Linked DNA regions of Homo sapiens: region 2 is linked to region 1. The links are contacts of gene promoters, found by promoter capture Hi-C in blood cells and fetal thymus (Javierre and others, 2016). All regions are on one chromosome and are shown on one strand. The core of a region is centred on a gene start or on the middle of the fragment in contact, and the rest is flanking DNA. Distances in the headings are between cores, read along the strand shown.

Region 1 (5,880 bases), core at 2,200-4,699:
CCCTTCACCTTCTGCCATGATTGTAAGTTTCCTGAGGCCTCCTTAGTCATGTGGAACTGTGAGTCAATTAAACCTCTTTCCTTTATGAATTACACAGTCTCGGGTATTCCTTTATAGCAGTGTGAAAAATGGACTAATACACAAGTGGTCCACACCCACCTGAAGTAGCAGCACTATCTAAAAAACTGGCTTCTCATGGAGAAATAACATTCTCGTTGCCCATTTTCACTTTATAAGTATATATAGTTCCCCTCCTTTGAAGATGCTCTTTACCTGTTCCCTCCTTACCTGTCTTCCTTGCCACATATGCTCCTGTGACTGATCTTACTCATATTTCTGACCTTAGAAAAGGCTACTGTGTTCAGTGCCCCTGCTGTGTGCTGAATGTGATTGTCTTTTTCCTATTAAAACACTAATTATATTGCATTGTAGAGGTTTATTCAATAGTCTTTCTCCCCCATAAGACTGTATAATTTGTGTAGTTAAGGATAAGGGGCCAGGCGTGGTGGCTCATGCCTGCAATGCTTTTGGAGGCCAAGGTGGGCAGATTGCTTGAACCCAGGAGTTCAAGACCAGCCTGGGCAACATGGCGAAACCCCATCTCTACTAAAATGTTAAATTTAAGCTAGTAGATCAGAATAAAAATGTTAATGTGAACTTATTGTGATATATATGAGACAAAATATAAGTTATCAGTTTGCAGCCCAGACATGAGACTGGATTAATGAATGATTTTGATGCTCTTGTTTATCAAGAGACACAGGAGTTTTGTTCTGAGCCGTCCTGGATCTTCAGGGAACCACCATGAATAAATACCATGAATAAACACCAGGAATTGGAGAACATAAGAAATTAACATTTTGTATTAACTTTAATGTGCTGGAATTTGAAAGGATCAGCAAGGAAATCTGATAGGAAATCATTTTGAATTACACTTAAAAATTAAAAAAAAAAATTACCTGGGCATGGCGGCATGTGCCTGTAGTCCCAGCTACTCAAGAGGCTGAGGTGGGAAGATCACTTGGGTCCAGGAGGTTGAGGCTACTGTGAGCTGTGATTGCACCACTGCACTCCAGCCTGGGTGATAGCACAAGACCCTGTCTCAAAAAAAAAAAAAAAAAAAAAAAAAGGATAAGGAATATGTTTTTTCATCATTGTATCATCAGCACTCAGAATGGAGGCTGGCATACAGTAAGAGCTAAATATTTGTCATATAATTGAATCAACTTTTGCTGAGTATCTATGTGGACATGCCTATGTATGTATGCATTTTGTTAATAAGGCAAATTTGTGATTACACAGAAAAATTCAATCAATATAATATCCTTACTGATTTGTCCTAAAATTTCACCGACACCTATTATTTATTTTTTCACAAAAGGTATGTTGGTATTTTAATTAAAAACGACTCTATAAATTGGTTTTATTATTTATTTATTTATTGTTTAGAAAATATTTTTTGTAGAGATGAGGTTTCACCATGTTGTCTGGGCTGGTCTTGAACTCCTGGGCTCAAGCCTTCCACCCACCTTGGCCTCCCAAAGTGCTGGGATTACAGGCGTGAGCCATCACACCCGGCCAACAAATTGGTTTTATTATGAGTAGCTAGTAATACATGTAATTTCTCTTTTACTTTTTAAAATATTATGAAAAAATTTAAATGTGCAAAATAAAGAAGAGTAGTATAATAAACTCCCATGCACCAATCATCTGCCTGGCCCTTATGTTTCATCCACAACCCAACCCACTTACCTGACTCCAGGTTATTTTAAAACAACTTCAGGCACTATAGCATCTAATTTTCAGTAATTTAAAAAAGAGTGTATAAGAATGCTTTAGAGATTACAAGGCAAATGCTTACACATTATCTTTTTCCATTCTCATACCCTGTTCTTTGGCACTTTACCGAAAAGGAAATGAGAAGGGTTCAGAGAAATTAAATGACTTTTCTTTGGTAACATGCCTAGTATACATGTAGTCAGAACTTGAAGCTTTTGCTTTTTTTTTTTTCTTTTTTAACATCAACTTTCGTGCTTAGTCCAGTGTATAACATCACAGGCAAATTCAAATTGAGAATAGGAATCAGTTGTTCTTTAACCGTAACCCTTCTAACTTTTACTTATCCTAAGACCGGGTAGCAAGTAGGGCAGGAGCCTTCATCTAGAGGGATGGTGACAGCTCTGATAGGGGAAAATTAGCACTGGTCTTTCCTTCCAAAAAGCCACTCTGGCTGCTGCTGTTGACACAAGGCTCCTGGCTTTTGAGACATTATTTGAGTGCTGGATTCCAATACTTTTTACTTTCTCATAAGAAAAAAAAATGTGAAGCATCTAAGGATATCTCCTGCCTTATTGATAAAGTAAGCCTCAGGCTGAATCCAAATTGCTGAGCTCCAATAGAACTACAGGGCAAAGCATCTACACAGGGAATTGCCACTCTTCTCCAAAATTAGGCTTTATTAAGAGGCAAGGCTATGTTCTCCTCATATATATGTGTGTGTGTGTGTGTGTGTGTGTGTGTGTGTGTGTGTGTAAAAAGTAAATGTTTTACACAGATCCCCATAAGGGAAAAGTGGGCTATAGTAATACAGTATTTTTTTGTTTTTCTTTTTTTTGGGGGGGGGGGGGACAGTTTCGCTCTGTCACCCAGTCTGGAGTACAGTGGCGCGATCTCGGTTCACTGCAACCGCCGCCTCCCGGGTTCAAGCGATTCTCCTGCCTCAGCCTCCCGAGTAGCTGGGACTACAGGCAAGCACCACCACGCCCGGGTGATTTTTTTTTTTTTTATTTTTAGTAGAGACGGGTTTCATCATGTTGGTCAGGCTGGTCTCGAACTCCTGACCTCAAATGATCCGCCCGCCTCGGCCTCCCAATGTGCTGGGACTACAGGCGTGAGCCACCGCGCCCCGCCAAATACAGTTTTATCAGGAATCAAAACTGTGCTCTCTTCTGGACTCTCAGCTTTAGCTGTTTGGAGCGTTTAGTCTAAGCCTTACCACTTACATTGTAATGTGAAGATCAAATTGTAACGACATGGCAATAATAAGGCTCCTATTGGTTGGGTACCACCAGTTTATGCCAGGCATTGTACTGATTCATGTCTTTAATCCTCAAAACGACCTTCCGAGGTCAGCGTTTTTATTCTTTTTCCAGAGGAGCAAACTGAGTTTCTGAGAAGTCACACCCAACTTGGTGGCAGAGCTGACGCTGGCATGGGGTTGACTCCAAAGCTCTCTACGCCACGAGGGTGGGAAAGACAACGAAACACAAGCGAGAAGAATAATGAGAACTGGGATCGCAACTTCATTAAATGAGAAGCCAGGAACAGGTGGCGGAGGGCACGCGGTTCGCTGCACGGAGTCGCTCAGGCTCTTTGAAACACCGCGCGGGGGAGCGGGGCGGTGCCGGAAGTCAGGCCATGGCTTCCGGTTCTTGCGTCGGAAGTGGCCGGTCAGCGTCGCTGCCGGTCTCCGGCGGAGACGGACTCTGGAGTTTGGGCGGCCCGGGCGGCCACTAGGTACTCTGATATTCCGTACTAAACACGTCTGCAAGTCAAGATGTCGCACCCGTCCCCCCAAGCCAAGCCCTCCAACCCCAGTAACCCTCGAGTCTTCTTTGACGTGGACATCGGAGGGGAGCGAGGTGAGCGGAGTCTGACGCTCGCGGAAAAGCCCCGAGGAGGCGGGGGTTCCCGGGATTTGGGGGATTCCAAGGGCGGAATGCGGCTCCGGCCGGTGACTGCTCAGTTTCGCGGAGGGGATGGCTGCCTAGGCTGGTCCGCCGGAGCAGGCCCGGAGATCTAGGGCTAGATCGATCCAGCGCCCTTGTATCAATGCCATCGGTGGTGCGGAAGTTTCTGGAAATTTCTAGTTCGGGAATTGTGGCGTCCTTTAGGTTTGCCTCCTGATTTGGTGGCACTTCCACGCCACCTTTGCACTACCAAGTTAGCATGAAATATTTTATGTTTGCAATGGGACAGTTCGGAAAGCATATCCTGGGATATGCGTCTGCTGGGCCCCAGGAAACTATATTTGCCACATGAGATAATATATCAGCACGTGCTGTGTTATTTATACGTTAAAGGGACTTGTTTGCTCATTGCTTTTGCCTTATTACTGATTCTTAATTTAGAGGTCCGTTCAGATGAGCAAACATTTTCTCTTAATTTGCCATTGGGAAAATGCGCTCAACGTAGTGATGGTGTTGCCTAGGTTACATAGCCGCTCAGAAGTTCCTAAGGCCTGGTGAATTAGGGAGCGTGTTGCTTTGTAACTGGATTGGCCTTGTTCTGGAACACGTTGGAATTGCTGGCCAGGCAATGTGTTTGAATGCATGTACAGGACACACACACGTTTACACGTACATTCAGTTTGTTGCAACTAGCTAGGGCTAGGTTTAATCTCACCTGTCTTAGCTGCTATCTAGAGGAGGAATTTTTACAGCTTTTGCTTCAGAGGTTGCATGAGGCAGTTTGCTCAGAGCACAAAGGCTGCAGGTATACGTAACACGTGGCAAGTCCGCCCACCCAAAGACTGTTTAATTTTCTCCCGTTGGTTGCTTGGTGATTGGAAATTCTCAGTACCTCTTGAAGAAATTACTCAGGATTTAAAACTATTTGTATTTAATGATATCTCTTACATGGTGCTAATCTTTTGGCTACTATAATTGGTTATGATCCTTAGTGTAATGTTTCAAATCTGTTTATATACATACATGACAGTAGGTAGACTAAATTTGAATATTAGAATAAAATAAGATTCACTAATTCTAGTGAGTATATTCAAAGGAAATGAAGTTTGTATGTCAAAGAGGTATCTGCACTCCCATGTTCATTGCAGCATTATTCATGATAGCCAAGATAATGGAATCAAACTAGGTTTCCATCTACAGATGGATTTTTTTTAAAATTTGATATATGTGCACAGTGGAGTACTATTCACCCATAAAAAATAATGAAATCTTGTCACTTCTGACAACATGAATTAATATGGAGGACATTATGTTACATGAAATAAGCTGGGCACAGGAAGACAAGGCATGATCTCACTTACATGTGGTTTCTAAAAAGTTGACCTTGAAGTAGAGAATGGAATGGTGGATTTCAGGGGTTGGGTAGATGTTGATCACGAGAGACCTAATTTCAGTTAGAAAGGGGGAATAAATTTAAGAGATCTATTGTATAACATAATGACTATAGTTAGTAGCAATGTGTTGTGTTCTTGAAATTGCAAAAAAGAAAAATTACAGTAAAGGGGAACTTGGTAATTCATGATTGATCTGCTACCATAATTATACCAACCTTCTTTTTATCATTTGTCTATTTGGTTGTTTTGCATACTGACAAGATTTTCTTTTCTTTTAGTTGGTCGAATTGTCTTAGAATTGTTTGCAGATATCGTACCCAAAACTGCGGAAAATTTTCGTGCACTGTGTACAGGAGAAAAAGGCATTGGACACACGACTGGGAAACCTCTCCATTTCAAAGGATGCCCTTTTCATCGAAGTATGTGTAAATTTTCTTAATCTTGTTATTCTTCATACAGACAAGTCCTGTTCTTTAGGATTTGGGGAAGAAAACACTAAGTAGGAAGTGAAGCTTAAAAAGTACTATTAGCGTCCATGTCTGAGGCAGTAACGCAGTTTCGTAAAGGTTAGGCTGTGCGAGGTGGAATTACTTATGGTACTAAGGTTTATCTATAGAGAAATGGACTCCCCTAGCTTTACCCATCCTCTCATTCTCCTTCACTCTAAGATGATTTGATTGAGAAAGGAAGGCCGTAGTCAACCAACCTTAGGTAGCTTCATTGCCTGGTGACAAAAAAGTTATGCATAGACCGGGCGCAGTGGCTCACGCCTGTAATCCCAGCACTTTGGGAGGCTG
Region 2 (6,000 bases), core at 158-2,657, 2.8 Mb after region 1:
TTAAGAGATTCTACCTCTTAGAAGGATGGCTGCTAGAAGTCATAATAAGGATAGCTTTAGGGACAGAGTCTTACAGGGACAGGGTCCTAGGTATGAATTTGAGAGGTTATACCTATAATAAATAGAGACTTAGTATGCACAAGACGTACTAATGCCCAAGGGACATGTTTTTCCTAGTTTTATAATCAGGATAATTTCTTCAATCTCTTGGGTTCTGAGTTACCCTTCTGTTCAGGAATCTGGTATCTCCCTTTGTAACTCATTCAATTAAACACATTTAACAACAACAACAAAAAAAAGGTGAAGGTAGTTATTTTTCACCAAATCTGTTCACCAAGGCTGTTCTGATTTATCAGCTCTAATTTTTCTCATGTAAGATCTAATTTTTAAACATCTGCACTTTTCAAAAGTATCAATGAGAAGTTTCCTATGTATTCATCAAAACTTTACGTCTTTCCTCTCATAAATGAAGTTAAGGTTCAGGTCTTTTCTTTAATATTTTATATGACTTTAGAGATGGCTACTCTAAATTTGCTCCCTATCATATCCTCTGTTGAGAACATGTGCCCACTGATCCTTTACCTAACGGAGGTTGTTGGATGTAATGAGCAGCAAGGGCCTCATACAGACTTCAGTTTGTGATGCGTCTATGAAATCTTTAATAGCCAGAATCAAGAGAGACCGGAAAAGTCACTTAAAAGAATTGATAATTCAAGAAATGAAATACAGGGCTTTTTAAATTTTAAATGATGTGAAACCCATGTTAGTGAACTTGATAAGTGTATAGCAAACAAGACAATAAATAAATAAGAGAATAGATATTCTTGGATATACTGATAGTATTATTTTACCATGAAAGCAACAGATTGCTTTCAATAGATAATATTGATCCTCATTTCTAATGACATGAGAAATACTTGCTCCAAGTGAATCTGAAAGTATGGTCTTTGAGCGCCATTTCTATAATCCAAATACTCTGTTTAAAGGAAAAGGAAGATAGAGGATGAGAGTATTTTAACTGAGCATTTATTTTGCCAGTCTCTGTAATAAGTGTTTTCCAATTATTATTTTATTTCATCCTTACATTCTTCCAGATCAGTATTACTCCATTTGTTGATGGAAATAAAGCTCAGAGAGGTTGATTATATAGCCAAAAATTGCACAGCAATGGTAAGACATTTCAAATTGTTGCAAAGTTAAAAAGAGGCCAGGCGCAGTGGCTCATGCCTGTGATCCCAGCACTCTGAGAGGCTGAGGCGGGCAGACCACGAGGTCAGGAGATTGAGACCATCCTGGCTAACACGGTGAAACCTCATCTCTACTAAAAAAAATACAAAAAAAATTAGCCGGGCATTGTGGCGGGTGCCCGTAGTCCCAGCTACTCGGGAGGCTGAGGCAGGAGAATGGGGTGAACCCGGGAGGCGGAGCTTGCAGTGAGCTGAGATCACGCCACTGCACTCGCCTGGGCGACAGAGCGAGAATCCGCCTCAAAATAATAATAATTATTATTATTACGCTGTGTTCAGAAGCCTCCAAGGAAGTACTTTTAATGTTATTAATGGTTTTGCAAAATCAAAACAAGTGGGTAGAGATTAGTGGTAGGGAGAGGACGAAGCAGAGCACTTAGTGGTTTAGAGTATTTTGCTGTTGGCAGGAAGTCAACAATTTGTATAAAGATTGAGTAGCCCTGACATGGGCTATGGAGAGCTGTGAAATGACAGGAGTCATTACACCAGAATAGCAAATGGAATTCTTTTAGAAGTTGGCTCCTGGTTGAACAAGTGGAAGACAGCAACATTTTCAGAAGTCCTGCAGACACTAGTGCCGCTGACATAAAGAACAGTGTATCAAGTGGTAACAAATAGAAAATATATGTGGAGATATTTGTCTTTTCAAACACATGGCACAAGACCAAAACCAAGTAACTGTTATTGGAATCATCATTGAAAATTAGGGACATAAATATTTAAAATAAATAAATAATACATTCATTTATTTCATTATTAAATTGGTGTTATTATAACTACTTCACAACCGGAACACCTAAACTTTGGATGGTGAAATGACACTTATAAGGCAACACAAAAATTAAGAGAAGTACATGGGAACTCCCTGCCAACGATGTATAAGTTTGTTTCATCTGGCATTTGCCAACTTGAGTGGCAATATATTGTTTCTCTCGTAGATGTCACAAATGATCTAGTGAGATAAACTTGCATTAGCTCTCCAACTAAATAGAGTATGTGGCTCAACTACTGCCTCCCCTCCCAGACACACGTGTAGAACCCACACGTACAGCATTGCCTACACTCAAGAGTCTAAAATCCATTCCTAGAATTAGATTTTCTTAATTAAACAATTTGTGTAATTTTAAGGATCTTGAAAGGGCGTACCAGTCTATACCTCATGTGCGTGCGTATGTGTGTGTGTGCGCATTTGGTGTGGTGTGGTGTGTGTGTGGTATATTCCTTTTTTGTTCTGTTAATATGGTGTATCGTACTGATGATTGATTTTGAAATTTTAAACCAACCTAGCATTTCTAAATAAACTTCACTTGGTCACAATATATTGTCCTTAACATATATTGTTAGATTTGATTTGCTATTTTGTTAAGGATTTTGTGTCTACAGCGTATTTATGAGGGATACTGGTATGTAGTTCTATTTTATTTAGATACATTTTTCTGGTTTAGAATCAGGGTAACACTGGTCTTATTTAAGTTGCAGCGTATTCCCTTCTTCTTGATTTTCTCAAAGGATAATATTGGTATTACTTCTTTCTTCATTGTATAAAGTTCACCAAAAAGCCACCTGGGCCTGAAGTTTTCTTTGTGAGTCAGTTTTCACTTACAAATTTAATGCCTTTAGCTGATAAAAGGCTGCTCAAGTTTTCTATTTCTCCTTTCATCTTTGGCAATCTGTGCCTTGCAAAAAGTTTGTCCATTTTGTACAGTTTGCCAATTTATTGTCATAAAGTTGTCAAAATATTATTCTTCTAATGCCTGAAGCATCTGTAATCATGGCTCTTCTTTCATTCCTAATATTGGTAAATTGGTTATTCATGTCTTCTCATTCTTTTCTTATTTTTTATTTATTTATTTATTTTTTTGAGTTGGAGGCTCGCTCTGTCGTCCAGGCTGGAGTGCAGTGCTGTGATCTCGGCTCACTGCAACCTCCGCCTTCCAGGTTCAAGCGATTCTCCTGCCTCAGCCCCCTGAGTAGCTGGGATTATAGGCGCCCACCACCACGCCCGGCTAATTTTTGTATTTTTAGTAGAGACAGGCTTTCACCATGTTGGCGAGGCTGGTCTCGAACTCCTGACCTCAGATGATCCACCGACCTCAGCCTCCCAAAGTGCTGGGATGACAGGTGTGAGCCACTGCTCCCAGGCTTTTTTTTTTTTTTTTTTTAATCAATCACAGGAGCAATTCCTGTGAACTAATAGGGAGAGGTCCAGGTAGAGCTATCTGATTGCAATGTAATTCTGACCCTGAGTGAAGGAAAAAAGGAAGGAAGACTGGGGAAGAGTTCCATGCTGTCTCACAGTCCAAGGAAACTTTGGTTTGGCAAGGCCATCAGGGAGTCATTAATCAAAAACCAGCTGTCAGGGGAGTCCCATTTGTCTCCCAAATAGCAAGCCTTAGCACTAAGTCATGAGCTAGGTGCAGCCCGTAAGAACTGTGGCTTCCCTTGGTGTGATCATGGAGATTTCAACTAGCAGCAGCTAAACTCCCTATAGAAAGAAGGCTGGGAGGCACATTCTCATGGCTGCCACATTCTCTCCTGTGCATTCTTAACATCCTACATTTTCAGTGCCTTCCTGACTACTCCAGCTCACAAAGATGGCCAGGCAGTACTTATTGAATGAATGAATCCTCTGAATTCCTTAGCAGTTAATAGTCTCTGGCTTATATTTGTCATTTGCCATATACAGAATTACCTTGTATTCTAGTTCTATTTTTACATTTATATATCCAGGTTATATTGAAAGCCTTGCTTCATCAAGATTATTTTAAAGTACCTCAAAAACTTTATTAATTTGTTGATTAGCAATCTTCCTAGGTATGCACAAAAGGAAAAAAAATAAGATTATGACAACTTCCAGCAATAATTTACTTAAAAATAAACAGCTTAAAGTTATTAAGGGCATGATATGGAAAATGTCACTTATCTATTTATTCAACAACAAACACTTATCAAGGATCTATTGTGTGTCAGCCATGTGCTAAGTGAGTGTCTCACCATAAGGAATAAGACATATAAGCAGTCATCATTTTGCTTATAGGTTTTTGATACAGACACACAATAAACACATAAGTACATAGACAAATATGTAGAAGCGCTAGGGTTGGAAAGGTACCAAATGATAGCCCCCTGAAATTTTATTTATTCTATGTAATTGGTTAGTATTACGAAATTGAAGCATGTTTATATATAAAAGATAAGCTTAAGATAAATTGTCACAAAATTCAAAGTTGAGAAATCAGTAAATAATGGTCACATTTCCCCTCCAGATAGAGAAACCAGGCTATCTTCTTCAAATATTTCCAGAATTGCATCTGTCACAGAGCCTTTGTACCCTACATGAGATAGAGATATCTATAAAGCTTTAATAGAATCAGATTGATTTATTAATTTATTTACCCAGTCTGTTTTTCATGCTTCATTACTTAGTTCCGGGAAACACAAAGGTGAAGAGGACATATTCCATATTCATAATTGTTTAACCACATGAGTGAATGTCTAAAGGTGACAATTTGCTTCTAGTATCTAGTGTTTATTTGCAGTCTATTTCTTTTTTCCCACTATGTCAATACTTTAACAGCTGTATATGGAATGCTTGCAACAAACCTGGTGATGGGGAATTATAAATGAATAAAATACACTTTTCTCAGCCTCAAAAAATGTCTGCAATTAGATAATAATTCTAATAGAAAATATTTATGAATCTCCTATGGATATCTTATACAACTTTACATTGTAGTCTGAAGGAAATCAAGCTTTAACTTTATAATTGAAAAATTTCTCCAAGTTAGTTATACACAGTTTACTTTGGAAAACTGACATAGTGGATATGAAATAGTTTTTGTTTTTCTTCTAGGAAAGTCTTAATAGACATCGATACTTGAATTCTTTATTTCCCAGTGAAAACTCCACCGCCTTCTATGGAATAAATCAGTTTTCCTATTTGTTTCCTGAAGAGTTTAAAGGTATAGTCCGATGTTGCTATTTAGGTGGTTTCCTGATTTTAATTTGCTTGCTTAACTTTTGATAAATATTTCATTGTAAATCTAATATATTGAGTAATAGTTAACATTTATTAAGTGTCTACTAAATGTCAGGCATGTACCATGTGCTCACATAAGAAAATAAATTCATGGCCAGTCTCTTCTAATTACTGCTTAAGAAATGAATGTTATAATTATGCACATTTCCATGTGGCTATAAAGGATAATTGTCTAATCACTTCTGCAGTTTTCTAGTGCTTTTTCTCTTCAGGACACACATGGTTCCATGGGTTATGATAGAACAAATGATGTCAATTATACTTATTTTTATTATTGACCTGGTTCTATCAAACAAATCATTTTATGTGTCAACTCCAGCCTTATTGTAGGAATTCTCTTTTGTAGTTTTTAATGAATGCATTTTATGTTATAGAAAAGCACAAGAGAAAATCTAAAATAGCAGGTCTACTAGAAGGCTACTGTTTCTTCTTTAAAAGTTCCTCCCAAAGAATCTCAAGGATATAATATAATATAATATTGGTTGTCTTTTAGTATAATATTGGTTGTCTCCCTATAATATAATATTGATTGTCTTTATATATAACAAATATATATGATATATATAATATAATATATTGTAATATAATATTGGTTGTATTTTCATTTTATGTTTCTACTCAGCCATTTATTTAAGAAGCAAACCTTCCAAGTTTCCCAGATACTCAGCAGAAGTACATATGTCCATCCCCAATGTGTCTTTGCCGTTAAGATTT

What was found. Contacts are between HindIII fragments. The CHiCAGO score rates a contact against its expected background, and 5 or more counts as called.
Region 2: a contact is called between a fragment that was not itself captured here and the fragment with the promoter of PPID in region 1, in 2 of 17 cell types (total CD8 T cells and non-activated CD4 T cells). The highest score is 7.7, in total CD8 T cells.

What each region holds. Positions count from the first base shown.
Region 1 is chr4:158,720,965-158,726,844 of GRCh38, reverse strand. PPID (peptidylprolyl isomerase D) reads left to right here and starts at 3,449. Exons shown (of 10, transcript NM_005038.3): 1 at 3,449-3,641; 2 at 5,362-5,502. The coding sequence starts at 3,557. RefSeq lists enhancers at 2,871-3,455, 3,343-3,822, 3,456-4,039. The HindIII fragment of the contact is 3,604 bases long and covers 1,994-5,597 here.
Region 2 is chr4:155,942,365-155,948,364 of GRCh38, reverse strand. It overlaps CTSO (cathepsin O), which reads left to right. Exons shown (of 8, transcript NM_001334.3): 2 at 5,101-5,209; 3 at 5,909-6,000. Among named protein-coding and RNA genes, the nearest start is that of CTSO, 8.5 kb to the left of the region's middle. The HindIII fragment of the contact is 6,081 bases long and covers 1-4,447 here.